3 separate regions of the Homo sapiens genome follow, and regions 2 and 3 are each linked to region 1. The links are contacts of gene promoters, found by promoter capture Hi-C in human tissues and cell types (Jung and others, 2019). All regions are on one chromosome and are shown on one strand. The core of a region is centred on a gene start or on the middle of the fragment in contact, and the rest is flanking DNA. Distances in the headings are between cores, read along the strand shown. Region 1 holds the start of RBFA (ribosome binding factor A). Region 2 overlaps PARD6G (par-6 family cell polarity regulator gamma). Region 3 overlaps SLC66A2 (solute carrier family 66 member 2).

Evidence for each region. The method cuts DNA at HindIII sites, captures the fragments that hold promoters and counts their contacts. A contact is called where the count stands out against the background at its distance.
Region 2: a fragment that was not itself captured here is called in contact with the fragment with the promoter of RBFA in region 1 in 1 of the 25 tissues and cell types used here (lymphoblastoid cells).
Region 3: a contact is called between a fragment that was not itself captured here and the fragment with the promoter of RBFA in region 1, in 1 of the 25 tissues and cell types used here (dorsolateral prefrontal cortex).

What each region holds. Positions count from the first base shown.
Region 1 is chr18:80,032,929-80,035,807 of GRCh38, reverse strand. RBFA (ribosome binding factor A) reads right to left here and starts at 1,374. Exons shown (of 7, transcript NM_024805.3): 1 at 1,155-1,374. The coding sequence starts at 1,312. It also overlaps a transcript of TXNL4A not described here. RefSeq lists silencers at 1,179-1,328, 1,439-1,518, 1,529-1,848, 1,731-1,887, 1,919-2,088. The HindIII fragment of the contact is 12,317 bases long and covers 1-2,879 here.
Region 2 is chr18:80,215,503-80,218,381 of GRCh38, reverse strand. The region is part of intron 1 of PARD6G (par-6 family cell polarity regulator gamma); the gene reads left to right. Among named protein-coding and RNA genes, the nearest start is that of PARD6G, 31 kb to the left of the region's middle. The HindIII fragment of the contact is 7,075 bases long and covers 1-2,879 here.
Region 3 is chr18:79,902,725-79,905,603 of GRCh38, reverse strand. It overlaps SLC66A2 (solute carrier family 66 member 2), which reads left to right. Exons shown (of 6, transcript NM_025078.5): 6 at 1,421-2,879. The coding sequence ends at 1,628. Among named protein-coding and RNA genes, the nearest start is that of SLC66A2, 47 kb to the left of the region's middle. RefSeq lists an enhancer at 802-1,437. The HindIII fragment of the contact is 4,811 bases long and covers 1-2,879 here.

The DNA of each region.
Region 1 (2,879 bases), core at 125-2,624:
CGGGATTATAACCCATGAGTTCTTGGTGATATGAATGAATTAATACATGGGGTGAAGAGACATATCCCTTGTGCAGAATGCAAACCACTTATGAGCAAAATTCCCCACTCATTAGGCATGGGCTGCACACAGCGACTTTCTCCCAGAGTACAGTAAGGAAAGGGGGCAAAAAGAGTAACTTTACGGTAGAGAAACCTGGCAAGCACCTCATGCAGGGGATCACGGCCAGCGTGGACCCTGGATACGGTGCGATGAGAATGGCCTTTACCTCTGTAGTCTTCCTCCCCAAAAGCCATAATCCACGTCTAAGCATTAAAAAAACAGGCACATTCCAACAGAGAGGCATCCTGCAAAGCACCTGACCAGTACCCCTCAAAACTGGCACAGCCATCAAAACCAGGGACAGTCTGGGACACTACCCCAGCCTAAGGAAACAAGACAATTCAATGTAACGTGGACCTTGGGTGGGCACCTGGGACAGGAAGGGACAGCAGGCAGAACCAAGGAAAAGTGAATAAAGTATGAGCTTCAGTTAGCAACACTCTTATCAATATCGGCTCATTAACTGGAACACGTTGGAAGCTAAAGTCCGACGCTAACACAGGGGGAGCTGGGTGCCAGGACACAGGAACGCGGTACTATTTTTGCAATTTTTCTGCAGGGTCTAAAACTGTCTTTAAAAGTAGTGTATTAAAGTAGAAAACATACAACCACCTACCATACTTAGAAGAACTAAAAGCAGTGTGAAAAGTCAATGTATTTTATTGTACTTATCTTTCATAATTTAAAAACACTAATTATCATGACAAGCTTTAGTCTTCAAATTCACACAGAAAGTCAACATTAGCAAGGAAATTCTTATATTTTTTCATTTTTCCTCATTTTCTGAAACTAATCTTCTGAAAAATACGTCTGGTGACAAGAATCAAAATAAACACACATTGTCACTTTGTTTTCTTAACCCGACACACGTCCACGAACACAAAAGCTGCAAATGCTGACAGTGAGAGCTAGAACTGCTGCAGACCCCAGGAGGCAGGAACTGGCGAGCTAGGCCGCATGGGCGCAAGAACGCGGATGAGCGGACACCGCAACCCGGGGACACCGCCCCCTAGGGAATACCGCGCCCAGGGACACCGCCCCCGCCGCATTACTTGGTTTTCGAGGCAAATTTCTTGAGCCAGTTCTTGCAGGAGACAGCAGAGCAGTGAAGTCCCCGCTCGCAGCCTGGAAATAGCGCAGCATCGCGGCTACGGAACAGGGCCCGGAGACCCGCGCGGGAGCGCCACAGCCCGCCCGCCGCAGCCCACATGGCGCGGCGCCGGGACCCGGAGCGAGCAGGGAGACAACGGGCGCAGGCGCGGAGCGACAACTGACGCGAGGGTGGCGGCGTGTGGGCGGGGCGACGGCGCAGAGCGGGAGGAAGACTCACGCCTGGCAGGCGGCGTGTGGGCGGGGCGATGATGCAGGGCGGGGCGATGATGCAGGGCGGGGCGAGGACAGACGCGAAGCTGACGGCGTGTGGGCGGGGCCACGGCGCGGGGCGGGACGAAGACGGGGTGCAAGGCGGGCGGGGCAACGACGGCGGAGGGGCGAAGGCCCGAGGGGGGCGGTAGGTGGGCGGGGCGAGGACAGACGCGAAGCTGACGGCGTGTGGACGGGGCGACGGCGAGGGACGGGGCAAAGACTGGACGCAAGAAGGGGCGGGGCGACAACGGCGGAGGGGCGAAGGCGCGAGGCGAACGGCGAGTGGGCGGGGTGAAGACCGACGCGAAGCGGGCGGTGGTTGGGCGGGGCGAAGACTGACGCGAGGCGGGCGGTGAATGGGCGGGGCGAAGACTGGCGCGAGGTGGGCGGTGGGTGGGCAGGGCGAAGACTGAAGCGAGAAGGGCAGCGCGAGGTGGGCGACTACCAGAGCGAAGCGAGCGGCGTGTAAGCGGGGTGAAGACAACGCCAGGTGGGCAGTGTGCGGGCGGGGGGGGCGGCAACGGGGGCGGGGCGAAGGACGACGCGAGGCGGGGCCGGCGGGAGCTGGGCGTGGGGAGGCCGCGTGGGCTGCGCGGAGGGTGTGCCACTCGGGGAAGCGTGGGAACCGCCTGGTTGCCTGGCGCTGCGTAGCTAGGAACACGTTTTGTTTAAATACTGGGAACTGACGTAGGCGGGTGCGCCGCACAAAGCAACGAAGGCATCGAAGCCTGGAGACCTGGGCAGGGCCGCTGTCGGCGGGAGGCTGCGAGGGGTCCGTCTGTTTCCGCCACTGGGCCCTCCAGGGCTTTGCTGCTGCGCCGCCTTCTCCCCGGGCACCTAGAGAAAGTCCCCAGATTGGGCGTCCTCCCCAGAAGTGGTCTCGCCCCGCCCGCCTCCCCAGAGTCAGCGTGGCCCAGCGGGGAAGCTGCTCCCCCCGGGCGTGGAAAGAGAAGTGAGCGCGACCGCAGTGTTGGGGATGCGTGGGCTGTGACTCCCCCGAGGCGGCTGCTGTGGTGTGAGACACGTCTGTGTGTGTGTGTGTGTGTGGGCGCGTGTGGATGTGTACATGTGTATGTGTGCATATGTACGTGTGTGTGCATGTGTGTGGACATGTATATGTGTGCATGTGCGTGCGCGTATATATGTGTGTGTGTATGCGTATGTATGTGTGTATATATTGTCAATCGAAGAAAACGACGAGACAAGTCTCTAATCATTTTAGGAGATTTATTTGCCAAAGTTAAGGACGCACCCAGGAGACAGGTCTACGCCTTTCTCCAAAAATGATTTTGAGGGCCCCAGATTTAAAGGGGAAAGGGCGGAGTATTGAGAAGCAGAGTTTTCACAAACAAACGGGCAGAGGAAAAACGTGGGGAATCTGCATTTTACATAAGATAACGCAGACAAAATGT
Region 2 (2,879 bases), core at 205-2,704, 180 kb before region 1:
AGCCCTTTTGTTTTGGCCAATTTCTCCTGTTTGGAATGGGTGTATTTACCCAATGCCTGTACCTCCATTGTATCTAGGATGTAACTAACTTACTTTTGATTTTACAGGCTCATAGGCAGAAAGGACTTGGCTTGTCTCACATGAGACTTTGGCCTTGGACTTTTGAGTTAATGCTGGAATGAGTTAAGACTTTGGGGGACTGTTGGAAGGGTATGATTGTGTTTAGAAATGTGAGGACATGAGATTTTGGAGGGGCCAGGGTGGAATGATATGGTGTGGCTGTGTCCCCACCCAAATCTCATCTTGAATTGTAGTTCCTATAATCCCCATGTGTCATGAGAGGGATCTGGTGGGAGGTAATTGAATCATAGGAGCAGTTACCTCCATGCTGTTCTTGTGATAGTGAGTGAATTCTCATGAGTTTGATGGTTTTGTAAGGGGCTCCCCGCCGCTTCACTCTGCACTTCTCCTTGCTGCCACCATGTGAAGAAGGATGTGTTTGCTTCCCCTTCCACCATGATTGTAAGTTTCCTGAGGCCTCCCAGCCCTGCAGAACTGTGAGTCAGTAAAACCTCTTTCCTTTTATAAATTACCCAGTCTCAGGTATGTCCTTATAGCAGCATGAGAACGGACTAATACATCTCCTTAGGCTCCTTTTAGCTGTGATAATTTCTCAGACTTCTCTTGTTTTTGGTGACCTTGATAGTTTTGAGGAGTACTCTTCAGACATTTTGTAGAATGTCCCTCAATTGAGATTTGTCTGTTATGTTTCTCATTATTATACTGGGATTATGGGTTTGGGGGAAGAAGAAGACAGTGGTAAAGTGGTATCTTGATCACATCATATCAAGATACATGCTATCAACATTACTTATTATTGTGGATGTTGATCTTGGTTACCTGGCTGAGAGTGTTTGCCCGGTTTCTCCCCTGTAGAGTTACTCTTTCTTCCCCCTTTTTATACTGTAGGTTTTGGAATGAACACATTCCGTGTGCCTTACACATAAGAGGTGGGAAGTTATGCTCTACATCCTTGAGGGTGGTGTATCTATTTGGTAATAAATTATTTGGTATTCTTCTGTATGGTAGACCTGTCTACTCTCCCTCATCTATGTACTCAGTCATTTACATCATTGTGGAGTCATGGATTTTATTTGTACTTTGAATTATAATCTAATACTACTTGCTCAAATTGTTCCAACTTCAGTCACTGGGAGCTTTTTCTGTTGGTTTCTATTTCCCTTTGACATACCCACATGATTATGGGCTTTGTTTTGTTTTGGGGCACTTCTTTACTTTCTGGTATTATAAAATACCCAAGGCACATCATGTATATTTCCTGTACCAGCCCTTCAATCAGTCATTTCTCCAAGGAGTCTTGGTTCCTTGCATGCTAGGTGTGATCATTGCTACTAGAATGTTTATAATCCTTGATTCCTTAAGGCCCATAGCAATGTCCCCTTCACCATTACTGATTTTAGTAGTTTGAATCTTCTCTCATTATTTTCTTGGTTAGTTTACCTAAAGATTTGTCAATATTGTTAGTATTTTCAAATAACCAACTTTTGATTTTGTCACTTTCTCTGTTTTTTGAGTCTTCCGTTTATTTCCACCCTAACCGCTATTATTTTCTACTTTCTGCTTGCTTTAGATTAAGTTTGCATTTCCTTTTTCATTTCTAATGGTGGAAGTTTCGATTATTGAATTGAAATCTTTCTTTTTAAATATAGGTGTTTACAGCTGTACATTTCCTTTTCAACACTGCCTTAGCTGCATCCCATAAATTTTGGTGTGGTGTATTTTCATTTTCATTAATCTCTACATATTTTCTAATTTCCTCTGTGATTTCTTTTTAATTCCATAGGTTATTTAGGGGTATGTTTAATTAGCACTTATTTGTGAATTTCTCACATTTTCTTCTTTTATTGATTTCTAATTTCATTTTCTTGTGGTTGGAAGACATACTTTGTATGATTTCAGTCCTTTTAAGCTTATTGAGACTTGTTTTAGGGCCTAAGTATGGTCTATCCTAGAGAATGTTTCATGTGTACTTGAAGAATATTTATTGTGCAGTTGTTGGGTGCAGTATTATACAGATGTCTTCCAGGTCTAGTTGGTTCATAGTGTTGTTTAAGTCTTCTATTTTTTGTTGATCTTCTGCCTAGTTTTATTCATTATAAAAATTGGGATATTAAAGTCTCCAACATTTATTGTTGAACTGTTCATTTATTGTTGAACTATTTATTTCTCCTTTTAAGTTAGTGTTTGCTTCATTTATTTTGGAGCTCCGTTGTCACATGTATATATGTTTATAATTGTTATGTCTTCCTGATAGATTTACCCTTTTATTATAAAATATCTTTTTCTCTTGCATTAAAGTCTATTTTGTCTGCTGTTTATATAGCCACTTCAGCTGTCTTTTAGGTACTGTTTGCATGGTATATTTATTTCCATCCCCTTTCTTTCAACCTATTTGTTTCCCTGAATGTAAAGCATGTCTCCTCATATAACTGGAGAATGATTGTTGTTTCTATTTGTGTTTTGTGTTTTAATCCATTTTGCCAATCTCTGCCTTTTTCTATTAGAATGTTGAATTCATTTACATTTAATTACTGACATAGTAGGATTTGTGCCTGTCATTTTGCTGTTTATTTTCTGTCTCATCATTTTGCTCTCCATTATTGCTTTCTTTTCTGTTAAATATTTTTACGTACAGTTTTATTTCTTTGTTGTTTCTTTTTACTGTATTTTCTTAGTGATGGCTTTTCAATTAACATTTAATTTCAGTTAACATCTTAATTTAAAACAATCTAGCTCAGATTGATACCAACTTAATTTCAATTATATACAAAAATTTTGCTCCGATATAACTCTATTCC
Region 3 (2,879 bases), core at 114-2,613, 130 kb after region 1:
ACCGCGCAATGCTCGGGCGCCTGCTGTGTGCATGGCTAGCGCAGGAAAGGCAGGCGCCTTTGCACCGGGGCTGTGGTCCCAGGCCCGGAGCCCCACCCCAAGTCAGCTGTGCAGCCCTGCCTGGGCCTAAAGCAGGCAGGGGGGAATTCCGAAGCCTGGGCTGACTGCTGGGGTGTGTGAGAGGCCGAGGGGCCTGCACCACCTTCCCCCGGTGCTACCCAGGCACCACCCTGTCTTTTTGTCTGTGGAAGAGACTGGATTTTGTGGAGCTGGAGCTGCATCCAGGGGAGGACACATCCCAGAGAATAAAAAATGGGAGGAAAATGCCCTCTGTGGGTCAGGGCCTTATAATTTAGCTAAACCGACCCAAGTGGAAACAGTCCCAAAGCCTCCTGGTTTTTCCCAGTGGGTGTAATGATAAAGCCGGATTTATGTTCTCAGAGGCCAACAAGATGCTCTAGAGCCGAGCACTGTGGGCTTGGGAGAGAGGAGGGGGTGCAGATGCCGGCTGTCTCCTGCGGGTTCCTAGCTCCAGCCCTGAACACACCCGGCCATGGCTGTGCCTGAAGACTCTCACACAGGGCGGCTACGGCACCCAGGTGCCCACCCTGGCTTATGAGCGGGACGGACGCCCCAGGGTGGGGGAGGGCTGTGTCCTGTCCTTTCTGTCCAGGCAGCGCTCCCCACCCAGGCTCTGCCTCTGGCTTCAGGAGCTGTGGAAGGGTCAGCGGCCGCTGATTTAAACATTTCACACGGGAAAGTGCAGCAGCACTCATGTTCACTGCTAGGCAAGCCAGGGCATGAACACAGCGGTGGGGGAAGCGTGTTCGGACTGGGATGGTGGGTGGCGGCTGCTCCCTGTTCACTCCAGGAAAGGAAGGTTTGCATCTATCACCAGGGAGGGAGGCCGGCAGAGACCCAAAAGCAGCTGCTCTGCTCCACTTGGCTGTGTGCCTGGGGGCACAGATCTGCGTCCTCAGCACCCTCCCAGGCCCGGCCCCTCCCAGAATTGCCACCGCGCACCAGGGGCCCTGACGTCAGCTGCTCGCCCTGCTGTCCCCTGTAGCCTCGAGCTGGTCTCACTGTTCTTGGGCTTGCAGAGCCCCAGCCAGGCGGCAGCTCTTGCGGCCACAGAGAAGTCAAGGGTGGGGGTTGCATGGGACAGGTGGGGTCAGGGTGTGTCCTTTGGCCCCCTGGGGTGTCCCTGACCCCTGGGTCACCCTGTAGACTGGGTGTCCCCTCAACCCCCTGGGTGCCCCCTGAGCCCCAGGCCTCCCCGCCGACTGCCTGGGGGTCCCCTTAGCCCCCTGGGTGCCCCTGAGCCCCAGGTCTCCCCGCTGTCTAAGCCCCAGGCCTCCCCACTGACTGAGCCCAGGTCGCCGCCCTCCCCACCGCTGACCGCCTGCTTGTGTCTCCACAGCATCAAGATGGTGCTCATGTGGACCAGTGGTGACGCCTTCAAGACGGCCTACTTCCTGCTGAAGGGTGCCCCTCTGCAGTTCTCCGTGTGCGGCCTGCTGCAGGTGCTGGTGGACCTGGCCATCCTGGGGCAGGCCTACGCCTTCGCCCGCCACCCCCAGAAGCCGGCGCCCCACGCCGTGCACCCCACTGGCACCAAGGCCCTCTGACAGTGGGGAGGACGAGGATGTGGGACCGCCAGCCGCGGGCACTGGTGGGCCCTGACCTCCCCGCGGGGAGGGTGGGTGCTGTGGCCCCTGCAGGTGTGGCAGAGATGGGGCATGGGCATTGGGGTCTCCATCAGCCTCTGTGGGGTGTCTCAGGGTGGGCAGTGGGGGTGGGGCTGGGACGCTGTTTGTGCTCAGCGGGGACAGCCAGGGTTGATCTGGCCCCGAGGGTTTTGGATGTTTTTAGGATGACATAAAAAGCAAGTGTTTTCCCCATTTCCTCTTATGAAACACCGTCTGAGCCCAAGGTACACATTGGGCGGCCTGCAGGAACCTGCTCCAGGTGGACACACGGGCCAGCAGCCGCGAACCTTGAAGCTGGGGTGACCGCAGGAGACCCTGTAAGGCCTGTGAGCGGAGCCCTCGACCCCGTGACACCCTGGCCAGACACCCTGCTTGGACTGGGGTGGCCTCTGCTACCCAGGGGTCTGGCACGGGGGAGGGCTGGGGCTTTCTCTGCCTGGTACACACGGAAAGGCGGCTGTGCGGACGCAGGGTCACCGTGCTCCGGGTTTTCTGACAGTCGGTGTTTCCTGGGCCTTTGGAGTGGCTGCGAGGCCTGAACGCCTTGTGGATCCGCTGTGTCCAGCCCGGCTGAGCATCGCCAGGGCTAGCTCATGCTGCTCTTGTCAGCCTCTGGTTCTCCTCGAGTCCTTGGGGACGTGGCAGATGCCAGCGACCATCAGACAACGTGGAGGCCCTCATGGGCAATGGCTGAGGGGGCCGGGCTGAGGCTGTGCACATGCAGTCTGCACGCCACTCTTGGGCTCTGCTGGCGGAGATCCCCTTCCTTCTGGGTGCAGACTGCACCTCCGGATGCAGTTTTGATGTCCATCTTCCAGGAGAGACGGTCTCGGGTCCAGGGAGTGGAGGGGGCTGCCCCTGCCGTGCAGGTCCTGGCCGATGGCGCCTTACCCTGCTGCCCTGGGCTTTTGGCCTGAAGCAAATTCCTGAGTGGGGGGTACTGGGGCCTGCCGCATCCTGTCCTGTCCACTGCCCACCCCCGTGTGCTGGCTCCCTCACTTCTGGCTGCAGTGGGAGCCGCCAGTCTGACCCTTGTCACCGCACGCTCTGCCCCCACCCCGTTGCAAGAGGTCACACCATGTCAGCAGCCTTGCACTGACCGCAGCCGGCCCCCAGGCCTCAGAGTTCTGGATGCTTCCGTGCGGCTCCAACAGGCATCGTCTTCCCTTC